Linked DNA regions of Homo sapiens: region 2 is linked to region 1. The links are contacts of gene promoters, found by promoter capture Hi-C in blood cells and fetal thymus (Javierre and others, 2016). All regions are on one chromosome and are shown on one strand. Each heading gives the region's core, a stretch centred on a gene start or on the middle of the fragment in contact. The rest is flanking DNA. Distances are from core to core; before and after follow the strand shown.

Region 1 (5,461 bases), core at 1,008-3,507:
GTCTCACTTCGTCACCCAGGCTGGGGTATGTGGCACAATCAAGGCTCACTGCAGCCTCGACCTCCTGGGTTCAAGCGATCCTCCTCCCTCAGCTCTCTAAGTAGCTGGGACTACAGATGCCCACCACCACACCTGGCTAATTTTTTTTAGAGATGGGGTTTTGCCATGTTGCCCAGGCTGGGAAAGGAGTTTTTAAAATTGAAAAAAAAAAGCACCCATAAATTATGGTACATCTATCCAATGAAACATTAGGAAGCTGCTAAAAAAAGAATGTGGTGATATAAATAATCTCAGAATTAAAAGCTACTAATAGTGTGTTACCATTTGTAAAACTAAAAGGGGGGTACTTATATGTACGTAAATGCTGGTATACACACAAGACTGATACCTAAGAAATTATAAACAGTAGTGCCACTGTGTGGGGGAAAAGGAGGATTTAGGGTTGGGAGTAGAGACTTACTTTTTAGTATATACCCCTTTGTAGTTTGAATTTTTTTGTTTTATCAAGCGCAAGCATTTTTTTTCCCTTTCCTGACTACAAAGATCCACAAGAAAAAGCATTTTTTAAAAACTGCAAAACAGAAAGCTCCATAAACGTACAGCCAGGTTTGGGAACCACTACCCTAGTTAGCTGCCAACTATGTCTTTACCTCTCATGTGTATACTACTCTCAACTTTAAAATCTCTGGTGGTTTCCTAATGCCTTTCGTGAAATCCCAAGCCTTAACCTCAGTCTCTCTTTTCCATTGTTTTTACCCTCTGACTTCCCGTATCATCACAGCGGAGAAATTTTGCAGGGGACACAGGACATCAACCCATCTCCTCATTCCAGTCTTTGAGACTGTATCCAAATGTCCCCTTCCTACTATCATCTGAGTCCCACAAGGTCTGAAGTCGTCCCCCAAAGTCTCTTCTGTAAAAGGACAGCAACGTAACAGAATTGTCCCCCGCCCTCCAGATGCTGGACTGGAGTGATGGAGGGAGCGCAGAGAGGGTACTAACTTTTGAAGCATTTGCCGTGGTAAGTTCAGACTGCCTGCTAGTGTAGAATATCCCAGTGGCTACAAATAGGTGTGGGAGAGACATTTCCTTATTTTGCATGTGGTTTGATTATAATCATATGCCTAAGAATAGTTTGCAGCAAGAAGAGTGGCAGTGCCGCCCTTCTCCATTCCCTTGGGCAAAATGCTTTATTTGCTTCTCGATCCTCTCCACTGTACTCTGTCAACTCACTGTTTTGTTTTGTTTTTGAGACGGAGTCTCGCTCTGTCGCCCAGGCTGGAGTGCAGTGGCACTAGCTCGGCTCACTGCAAGCTCCGCCTCCCGGGTTCACGCCATTCTCCTGCCTCAGCCTCCGGAGTAGCTGGACTACAGGCGCCCGCCACCACGACCGGCTAATTTTTTGTATTTTTAGTAGAGACGGGGTTTCACCGTGTTAGCCAGGATGGTCTCGATCTCGTGACCTTGTGATCCACCCGCCTCGGCCTCCGAAAGTGCTGGGATTACAGGCGTGAGCCAGCGCGCCCGGCCTACTCACTTTTTTTGAAATAAACATGCAGGTCCCAGGGTCTGTCCTGCACTGTATAGCACACATGAGTCTCAATATCAGGCATGATTCTGTCACCCTTGGCTCTTCTCTCCCAGTAAACCAAACCTAACCCCATGTTCCCAAACGTGTGTCTCTGGAAGCCCCCTCTCCCCAGCCAAAGCGCCAGGCACGCTGGACAGAGGCCACCCTAGATACAAGGACCGTTCCCACCTGGGGTCTGGCCCTGAAAGAAAAGTGGGAACGTAGTCGACAAGGACTCCTCTCCAAGAGAGATTCCTAAGACAGATGGTGGAACCCTGGCGGGCAGGCAGCAGCGGCACTGGCTCAGTCAAAGCCACGCTTTATACTCGTTTTGGGAAAGTTTCGATGGGTGTTAGCCCAGGCCAGAACCACAGTGGATGTGTAGGCAGCCAACCACTTGGCTCCGGATGCTCCAATCCCTCCCCTGTCACTCACCCCGGAGTTACACCCCACGTCGAGCCCCAGAATCGGCCCGTTCTCGGGACTCTCAGGAAAGAGCTGTCGAAGCAGCTCCGGGGGCAGGAGGCGGAGCCGTTGCTCCGGAGGGTGGAAGCGAGAATAATGAGGAAAATTTCCGAACGGGGCGGCGCCAGGTGCCAGAACTCGCGATTCCTCTTCCGCTGCGGTCTCCTTAACACTCCCTCCATCCAGTTCCGTGGGCACCGCCATTAGCCTCAACACAGCCTCTGGGCCGTGGCGGAACCGGAAGCCGGGAACCTGCTGTCGGCGTGGGCGGTGGCGGTGCCAGCGCGCGTGCGTCGAACGGCTAGGGCGGGTGGCTAGAATTCTGCGGTGAATCAGAAAAGCTGTCCTGATTTCCTCTCGCTGTATACCTGGAGCCGGCGAGCGCCTGGGGCTTGCCTTGTATTATTGAACCCTCATCACAACACTGGGAGGGGATTAGCAATATCATCCACGTTTTACAGGGATGAAACAAACTCTGAGGGCTAAGTGTCTTGGCCAAGCTGACATAGTTTGAAACTTGGGCTACTTGACCCAGAACAAGTATACTAGTTTGTTGGGATCTTGGAAATCAATTTTAGTCCAATTTCCTTTCTTTATAAATGCAAAAAGTGAGACCGAGAGAACTTACTTGTCTGGGGTCATACATTGAATCTGTGACTCAAAAACTTCCACCCGGTTCAGGAAAGGGTAGCCAGGAGGTGCAGGTCACTTGCGAAGCCAGCCGACTCAGCCCTGTCCCCCAGGGGCAACTGTAGACCATGAGCTCCTTGAGAGGCAAGGACCGTGCCTTAAGAGCCAGCACTTAAAGAGTGCTTACCAGGCACCAGACACCCTTGTAAGCTCCTTAGTCAATCCTCTCACCCCGTGAGAAAATGACCGTATTATTATTCTTTTTATATAGATGAGGACACTGGAGTAAAACAAAGTAACTTGTCCAAGATCCCACAGTTAGAAATGATGGTACTAGGATTCGAACCCAGGGAGTTTGGATCCAGAGGATGTGCTTGCAACGGTGTGTTATTCTCAGCCTTGAGTCTCCTATACTTAACATGGGCCTGGCACAAAGATGCTCAACAAATGTTGTTGAATGAAAACTCAATAGAGAATACAATAAGGCCAGATCTGTTTGGGGAAACTTTAAATGGAAGGGAGAAAGGATGCCAACTGAAGCAGACATAGTGGAATGGAGTTGGGCAAGATGTGACTCAGAGATTGGAAATAACAGAGCTGATAAGGAGAGGAACTGAAGGGTCAACCTAGGTAGCAGGTTCCAGTCAAAAGCCAGGATGGCCCAGAATATCCGTCAGGGTCAACCAAGCATCAGCAGAGTTGTGCAGGACCCCCAACCCCACCCCTGCACCTGGCCCACCCATCTTAAAGGGGTATCCTGCTCCATGAGGCTGGCAGTTCGGTAAACTTCTTATAAGGCACTGGAGCATGACTCCTGCAAACAGTACCATCAGGAGTTAAAATAAGCGCTGTTTTCCTCTCAGTTTTTACTTTATATTTTCTTTTTCTTTTCTCCTTTTTTTGAGATAGAGTCTCACACTATTGCCTGGGCTGGAGTGCAATGACATGATCTCGGCTCACTGCAACCTTTGCCTCCCAGGTTCAAGTGATTCTCCTGCCTCAGCCTCCCAAGTAGCTGGAATTACAGGCACCCGCCACCATTCCTGGCTAAGTTTTTGTATTTTTTAGTAGAGACGGGGTTTCACTATGTTGGCCAGGCTGGTCTCGAACTCCTGACCTCGTGATCTGCCCACCTCGGCCTCCCAAAGTGTTGGGATTACAGGCGAGAGCCACCACGCCCAGCCTTTATATTTTCATCTCTATCTGGCCTGCTGTTTCTCTAGTTTCACTTATTTGAGGACACAAGTTAATAAAAGTCACTCTGGAATTTAGTAAACCACAGTATTCTGCACAATTACAGAAAAGGAGAAAAAGCTGCACCGTTTTGACAAATTTTGGTGAGCTGAGCTGAACTTACCTCTTTTTGTCACTAGATGAAGCTAGCACAAATAATTAACAATTTTCAAGGAGCTGGAATCACCTTGCTTCCAGGACAGTGAATGGCAAGAACTCCTGACCCTGGGGTTCCTCCAGAAGCAAAGATAGGCCCTCGTAACATTACTGGTAATCTAAAATGCCTGACAGGTGACCTCATAAAGAGGTGTTTTAATTTGATCCACTCTGGTAACTTTTCTAACCTATGACCACTTTTCAGAGCCTGAACAGCACAGGTGTCTTGACAATACTTGACAATACCAGCCCCAGCACCTTAAATAGCTGTAGCAGCACCTAAGAGCTCGCTCTGCACTTTGGTCAGCCAGGTTTTATGGAGTGAGATGCATATATAATTTCAAGGGAAAGGGGAAGAAGGGGCGCCCTCTTTAAGGAAAAAACTCCCACCAACTTACAAATATAAAGACAGGTATAAAAGTGAATATTTATTTATAATGAGAAATCACAACAAATTACAAATTTTGAAAAGCTGACTACTAAAAGCATCACAACAAATTTTCTATAGGCTTGGTGTGGTGGCTCACACCTGTAATCCCAGCACTTTGGGAGGCCGAGGCGGGCGGATCACGAGGTCAGGAGATCGAGACCATCCTGGCTAACACGGTGAAACCCCTCTCTACTAAAAATACAAAAAATTAGCCGGGCGAGGTGGCGGTCGCCTGTAGTCCCAGCTACTCGGGAGGCTGAGGCAAGAGAATGGCGTGAACCCCAGGGGGCGGAGCCTGCAGTGAGCCGAGATCGTGCCACTGCACTCTAGCCTGGGCGACAGCAAGACTCCGTCTCAAAAAAAAAAAAAAAATTCTATAATAGTTTGATTGATTAAATGCTAGTCACACTTGAATATTACTTTTTTTCTTACATTTTTGGCTGCATACTCTTTGATTGCTTCTTCACATGACAATCACTTGATAATATCATTTTAGAGAGAGACCAGGAAGGTAATTCAGTCTTTTCTTAGCCTGGTGGATCAAATTTGTCTTTTATTATTTGTGGCAGTTATAAAAGTTTCTTTCAAGTTCACAAGTTGTTATTGGCAATGTCATGTAAATTTTTTGGTTTGTTATCAAATTGGGGGAGAACTTTGATTAAATTTCTTTCATTTATTAGCTGGAAGATTTCAGAGCATTTCAAATTTTCTTGTGCAAGAAATAATCTTAGATCTACTCTTCAAATGGACTGTATTCATTAGCCAATTTGTCGTTGAAAACCTTATTATGAATGATGCATTATAAAATTTTTATCATCTGCATTGATAGCAGTAATTTGTGTCAAGTCAGCAAAGGAATTTAAACATAGGGATTCTGATAAATTGTGTATTGTACAATTCCCATCAAGAAATAAAAGAATGCATGGTGCATTTATAATTATATATGCTGTGCTATTGAGTTACTGTGTTATTGCCGA
Region 2 (5,461 bases), core at 1,750-4,249, 330 kb after region 1:
AATTGGAACAGTTGCCTCTACAGGCAAGGATATCAATCAATCAAAAATGCATCTGCCCACTTGGTGTGAACAGTGATTTTTTTTTTTGAGACGAAGTCTAGCTCTGTCGCCCAGGCTGGAGTGCGGTGGCGCGATCTTGTCTCACTGCAAGCTCCGCCTCCCGGGTTCACGCCATTCTCCTGCCTCAGCCTCCCAGGTAGCTGGGATTACAGGCGCCCGCCACCACGCCCGGCTAATTTTTTGTATTTTTAGTAGAGATGGGGTTTCACCATGTAAGCCAGGATGGTCTTGATCTCCTGACCTCGTGATCCGCCCGCCTCGGCCTCCCAAAGTGCTGGGATTACAGGCGTGAGCCACTGCACCCGGCCAAACATTGATCTTAAAACAGCAACAACAACAAAAAAAAAAAAAAAAAAAAAGAAAAGAAAAAAAAGAAAAAAGCGCCAGGCACGGTGGCTTACACCTTACGTAATCCCAGCACTTTGGAAAGCCGAGGTGGGTGGTTCACGAGGTCAGGAGTTTGAGACCAGCCTGGCCAACATGGTGAAACCCTGAGTCTACTGAAAATACAAAAATTAGCCGGGCGTGGTGTCAGGCGCCTGTAATCCCAGCTACTCAGGAGGTCTGAGGCAGGAGAATCACTTGAACCGGGGAGGCGGAGGTTGAAGTGAGCCGAGATGGTGCCACTGTACTGTAGCCTGGGCGACAGAGCAAGACTCGGTCTACAAAAAAAAAAAAAAAAAAAAAGCATCTGCCTAAAGTGAAAAACAAGTCCATTTTCAGCAGAGACATTTGGAAATCCATTCAGCATGCTAGGCATAATTGTAAGGTGAATTATTCAATGTTGAGTGTTATAAACAATAAAAACCACCACTAGATTTCGAATTGGTAAAATACCTCATTTTGAATGCACACATTAATTCTCTTGCCAAGTTGCCTGCAATTTTCCAGAAAAATTTGTCTTCCTTCAGGGAGGATTGAAATCCAAGATCAGCCCAACACTACCATCTAGTGGTGAGATGTATTGATAATGCTTCTATTCAACTAAAACTTAAAAAAGTGGTACCATTTTTTTCTTCCCAAACTGCAAAAGTAGATCCTGAGAGACAGTAATAACGTAAGAAAATAATGGAAGAGAAACATTGAAAAGTTCAAATTTTAATTAAAATCTTTATTGAATAAAAATGTTTCAGACTAGGTAAGACTAAGAAAGCAGAATGTTTTACATCTCTAAAAAATATTAAAGCTAAATCTCTATAAATGCAGTACAAAGAAAAGCCTACAGCTTAAGACACCTCTCCCTCCCATCCATACAATTTGGAATATCAACTGTGTACAACAAATGTACTCAAGTTTATAATGTCCCCAAACCTTAAGACTAGAAAATCATCCCAAGAAAAAGGCCTATAGTTGGTTTAATTTCACCCTGAGAATACTGTGATAAAAATCAATATATTTCAGAGCTAGTAAGTATTTAAAAATTAGTGTCTCAAAAAGGGGACATCATAAGGGAAATACAGGGTTTAGAGGTCTGAGCTCAAGTGGTGTAAGACAGTTCTTTCTTCTTCCTCCTTTAAACTCTTCACTTTGCTCTAACACGGAAGATGGGGGACAGTGATCCCGAAGGTATTACTAAAATATTGCAGCTTTCAGTAATTATGAGAAGCACAGATATCACCAGAAAAGAAAGCAATCATTTGGAGTACAGTAAATTCACTGGCAGATACAAAAGCTTATTTGGGAGACAGCAGATCTCTCTAAGCACCGAAGAGTGTAGGTTGGTTTTTCAATTGCCTCAAAAAGTGCTCTGTTGTATTATACCTCAGGACGTCGAGTTCAGGATGTAGTTTAGAGAGCAGGACATAAAGTAGTAAATTCCTCATATATATCACAGCAAGAAAATTAACCTAAAAAATTTAAAGACTAAATAATCTCTTAACAGGTAAATACTAAAAAATTAAATTGGTATTCATTTAAAAATATACAAACTGTGCCCTTTATACTAAAGTGCATTCAGTCGTAATGTTTAAGCCCCTAAATTCCTTCTGTATGTTCTCTAATTCCAAAATAGTGTGTAACAATATACTACTAATCATCTGTCTACCTTAATATTGCCTTTTGGGAATACAGTAGAATCTGGGCTATTATCAGGTGGAATATTTCCCCAGTTACAAGCCTTACAGCACTTATGCATATCATCACTGCTAAAATGAAGAATTTAAGTAAAGTTATCTCTAGTATTTAGAATGTGTTTTTTGTGTTTTTTTGTTTTGTTTTTGATTTTAAGAAGGAATTCTTTTCCAAAGTTACTTCCAAGTAAATTACATTTCATGCTGGGATACCTGCTTATGTGCATCACATTTTGACAAAGGGCAGTGGCTCGCTAACACTAACATGAATTTAAGGCCCAGCATCATTGCAATTTGTCACTCTTCATCCTCATCCTCATCATAATACCGATTTCTCTTTATCTGTTCTTCCACAGAGAGCTCTTTGACCACTTCTCCCTCCCAGAGTTCCACATCCTGGGATTTCTGATTCTGAGTAGTGAATTCTTCAGCAAAGGTGTTGTCTACAAAACTCGACCAATTCAGAGACTTGGGTTCTTGTGGAGATTGTTGTTTGAGGAAGCTGTTATCATCTTCATCGGAGTCTGCACCATTTTCTACAAGATTCTCATTCTCCATCTCCAAACTATGACCTTCCTTACTTCTCTTCCCTGTCTCTCCTTTAGATTCTTTGTTTTGCCAGGTTGTTTTTCCCACATTCCCATTCTTCTTAGAAGCCTTGGCATTTTCCACTTGTTTCCTTTCTGCAACTCTTCCACCCACAGACTCTTCACTCTGCTCTGACATGCTCCAGCCTTTCCTGATAGGTGGGGACACAGTTTTTGGGCTCTTGACAGAGGTGCTTTGAAATGAAGCTGCTACAGTGAATGGGCGGCTTCTTTCCTTCAGTGAAGAAGATCGTCTTAGCTTCTTCAGATCTAGATCGACATCCTCAGGAACTTCGGGCTTGCTGATTTCGTCTTCAGGAGGCCATTTGGGCTTTGACATTTTGATCCCTTCCTCCAAGGCACTTCCTGAACTTCCAAGTTCAGTGGGGGGTGGCCAGGCGATCCTCAGCTTCTTGGTTTCAGCTGGCTTGTCTTCCTTCTCCTGCTGAGAGGAGGCCTTGGCTTCCATACTTGCAGCCAGGACACCCACCTTAGCAATAGGGGCATCTTCTACCCCTGGGCTGTGAGGGGTCTCCCTTGCATTTGCAAGCTGGGCTGGTCTCTCCAAAATCTCTTCGTTTTCATTTTTGCTTGCCCATAGATCCTTGTGTGGTCTGTGCCCAAAGCCTTCATCATAGTTGCCCTTAGATTTAAAGAGTTGATTGAAGTGAGGCTTACAATAGATTCTTCCATGTAAAGATGCATATGTTCCTAGACTGTCATTAAAAGAAAAAAAGCATAAACTTAGCAAATCTTCACATTCTCACTTATACCAGGAGGCTAAAATCTGGCAATTCCAGTATTTTCAGAAGATGCCAAGTAAGAAAAAGATCTTTAAAAGCCCTTCAGTGACCAGGAATTCCTTACCCCCATTTTAGCACATTTGTTTTCTTATCATAACACAAAGCACGGGTTGGGTGCAGTGGCTCATGCCTGTAATCCCAGCGCTTTGGGAGGCCAGGGTGAGAGGATCGCTTGAGCCCAGGAGTTTGAGACCAGCCCGGCCAACATAGTGAGAATTCATCTCTACAAAAAATTTAAAAATTAGCTGGGTGTGGTGGCACATGCCTGTAGTCTCAGCTACTTGGGAAGCTGAAGTGGGAGAATCACTTGAACCCGGGAGGCAGAGGTTGCAGTGAGCTGAGATTGTGCCACTGTGATAGAGCGAGACTGTCTTAAAAAAAAAAAAAAAGAAAAAAAAACCAACAGTAATAGAAACTTTAAATCATTCTGAGCCTTGAGAGGAATGTGGCTATGCAACCTGGGTCACACAGCATGTAGCTGCAACTCTTTCTTTTCACTATAAATTATGAAGACCAAAGGGCACCAGAGATAAGACCCCCTCAGATCACTATCCCTTCTTTGCGAGTGATAATCTTCCTTGGAATGTACCAATCTGTACCCAATCAAATCACTGTGGTATATGCACTGGTCTTATATGAAAAATGTCATAATCTTTGCTAAAATTTCTGTGTAAGTGAAACTAACTTTCTCCACTTTGGAATGCTGACCCCATTCATTTGGAGTCAGTGTTTCTGGGTAGCCATCATCAAGCTTTTGTGCTTGAATTAACTCTATTCTTAACGGTATATAAATACATATATATATATATATTTTTTTTTTCTTTTTCTTTTCTTTTTTTGAGAGAATCTCGCTCTGTCGCCCAGGCTGGAGTGCAGTTGCACAATCTTGGCTCACTGCAACCTCCGCCTCCCAAGTTTAAGCAATTCTCCTGCCTCAGCCTCCTGAGTAGCTGGGATTACAGGAGTGCGCCACCACGCCTGGCTAATTTTTGTATTGTTTTGTTTTGTTAGAGTCTCGCTCTGTCGCCAGGCTGGAGTGCAGTGGCATGATCTCAGCTCACTGCAACCTCTGCCTCCTGGGTTCAAGCGATTCTCCTACCTCAGCCTCCTGAGTAGTTGGGACTACAGGTGTGTGCCACCATGCACGGCAAATTTTTGTATTTTTAGTAGAGACGGGGTTTCACCATGTTGGCCAGGATAGTCTCGATCTCTTGACCTCGTGATCTGCCCGCCTCGGCCTCCCAAAGGGCTGGGATTACAGGCGTGAGCCACCACGCCCAGCCATTTTTGTTTTTTTTTGAGACAGAGTCTCGCTCTGTCACCCAGGCTGGAGTGCAGTGACACGATCTCAGCTCACTGCAAGCTCCGCCTCCCAGGTTCACGCCATTCTCCTGCCTCAGCCTCCCGAGTAGCTGGGACTACAGGCACTCGCCACCACACCTGACTAATATTTTGTATTTTTAGTAGAGACGGGGTTTCACCTTGTTAGCCAGGATGGTCTCAATCTCCTGACCTCGTGATCTGCCCACCTCGGCCTCCCAAAGTGCTGGGATTACAGGCATGAGCAACTGCACCCAGCCATTTTTTGTTGTTTTTTTTTTTGAGTGGAGGTCTTGCTCTGTCACCCAGGCTGGAGTGCAATGGTATGATCATAGCTCACTGCAGCCTTGACCTCCAGGGCTCAAGTGATCCTCCAGCCTCAGTCTCAGCCTCCCCAAATTTTTCATAGAGATGGGATCTCCGGCCAGGTGCAGTCCCAGCACTTTGGGAGGCCGAGGTGGGCAGATCACTTGAGGTCAGAAGTTTGAGACCAGCCTGACCAACATGGTGAAACCCCATCTCTACTAAGAAATACAAAAATTGGCCAGGCGTGGTTGCTCACACCTGTAATCCCAGCACTTTGGGAGGCCGAGGAGGGCAGACTGACTGAGGTCAGGAGTTC

The links. The method cuts DNA at HindIII sites, captures the fragments that hold promoters and counts their contacts. A CHiCAGO score of 5 or more calls a contact.
Region 2: a fragment that was not itself captured here is called in contact with the fragment with the promoter of BCDIN3D in region 1 in 1 of 17 cell types (M2 macrophages); the score reaches 5.7 in M2 macrophages.

Annotation. Positions count from the first base shown.
Region 1 is chr12:49,840,849-49,846,309 of GRCh38, forward strand. BCDIN3D (BCDIN3 domain containing RNA methyltransferase) reads right to left here and starts at 2,258. Exons shown (of 2, transcript NM_181708.3): 1 at 2,006-2,258. The coding sequence starts at 2,239. It overlaps BCDIN3D-AS1 (BCDIN3D antisense RNA 1), which reads left to right. Exons shown (of 3, transcript NR_027501.1): 3 at 1-306. RefSeq lists enhancers at 1,601-1,970, 2,541-2,600. The HindIII fragment of the contact is 7,812 bases long and covers 1-5,461 here.
Region 2 is chr12:50,174,638-50,180,098 of GRCh38, forward strand. It overlaps LIMA1 (LIM domain and actin binding 1), which reads right to left. Exons shown (of 11, transcript NM_016357.5): 11 at 1,151-3,432. The coding sequence ends at 2,427. Among named protein-coding and RNA genes, the nearest start is that of CERS5, 10 kb to the left of the region's middle. The HindIII fragment of the contact is 2,538 bases long and covers 1,731-4,268 here.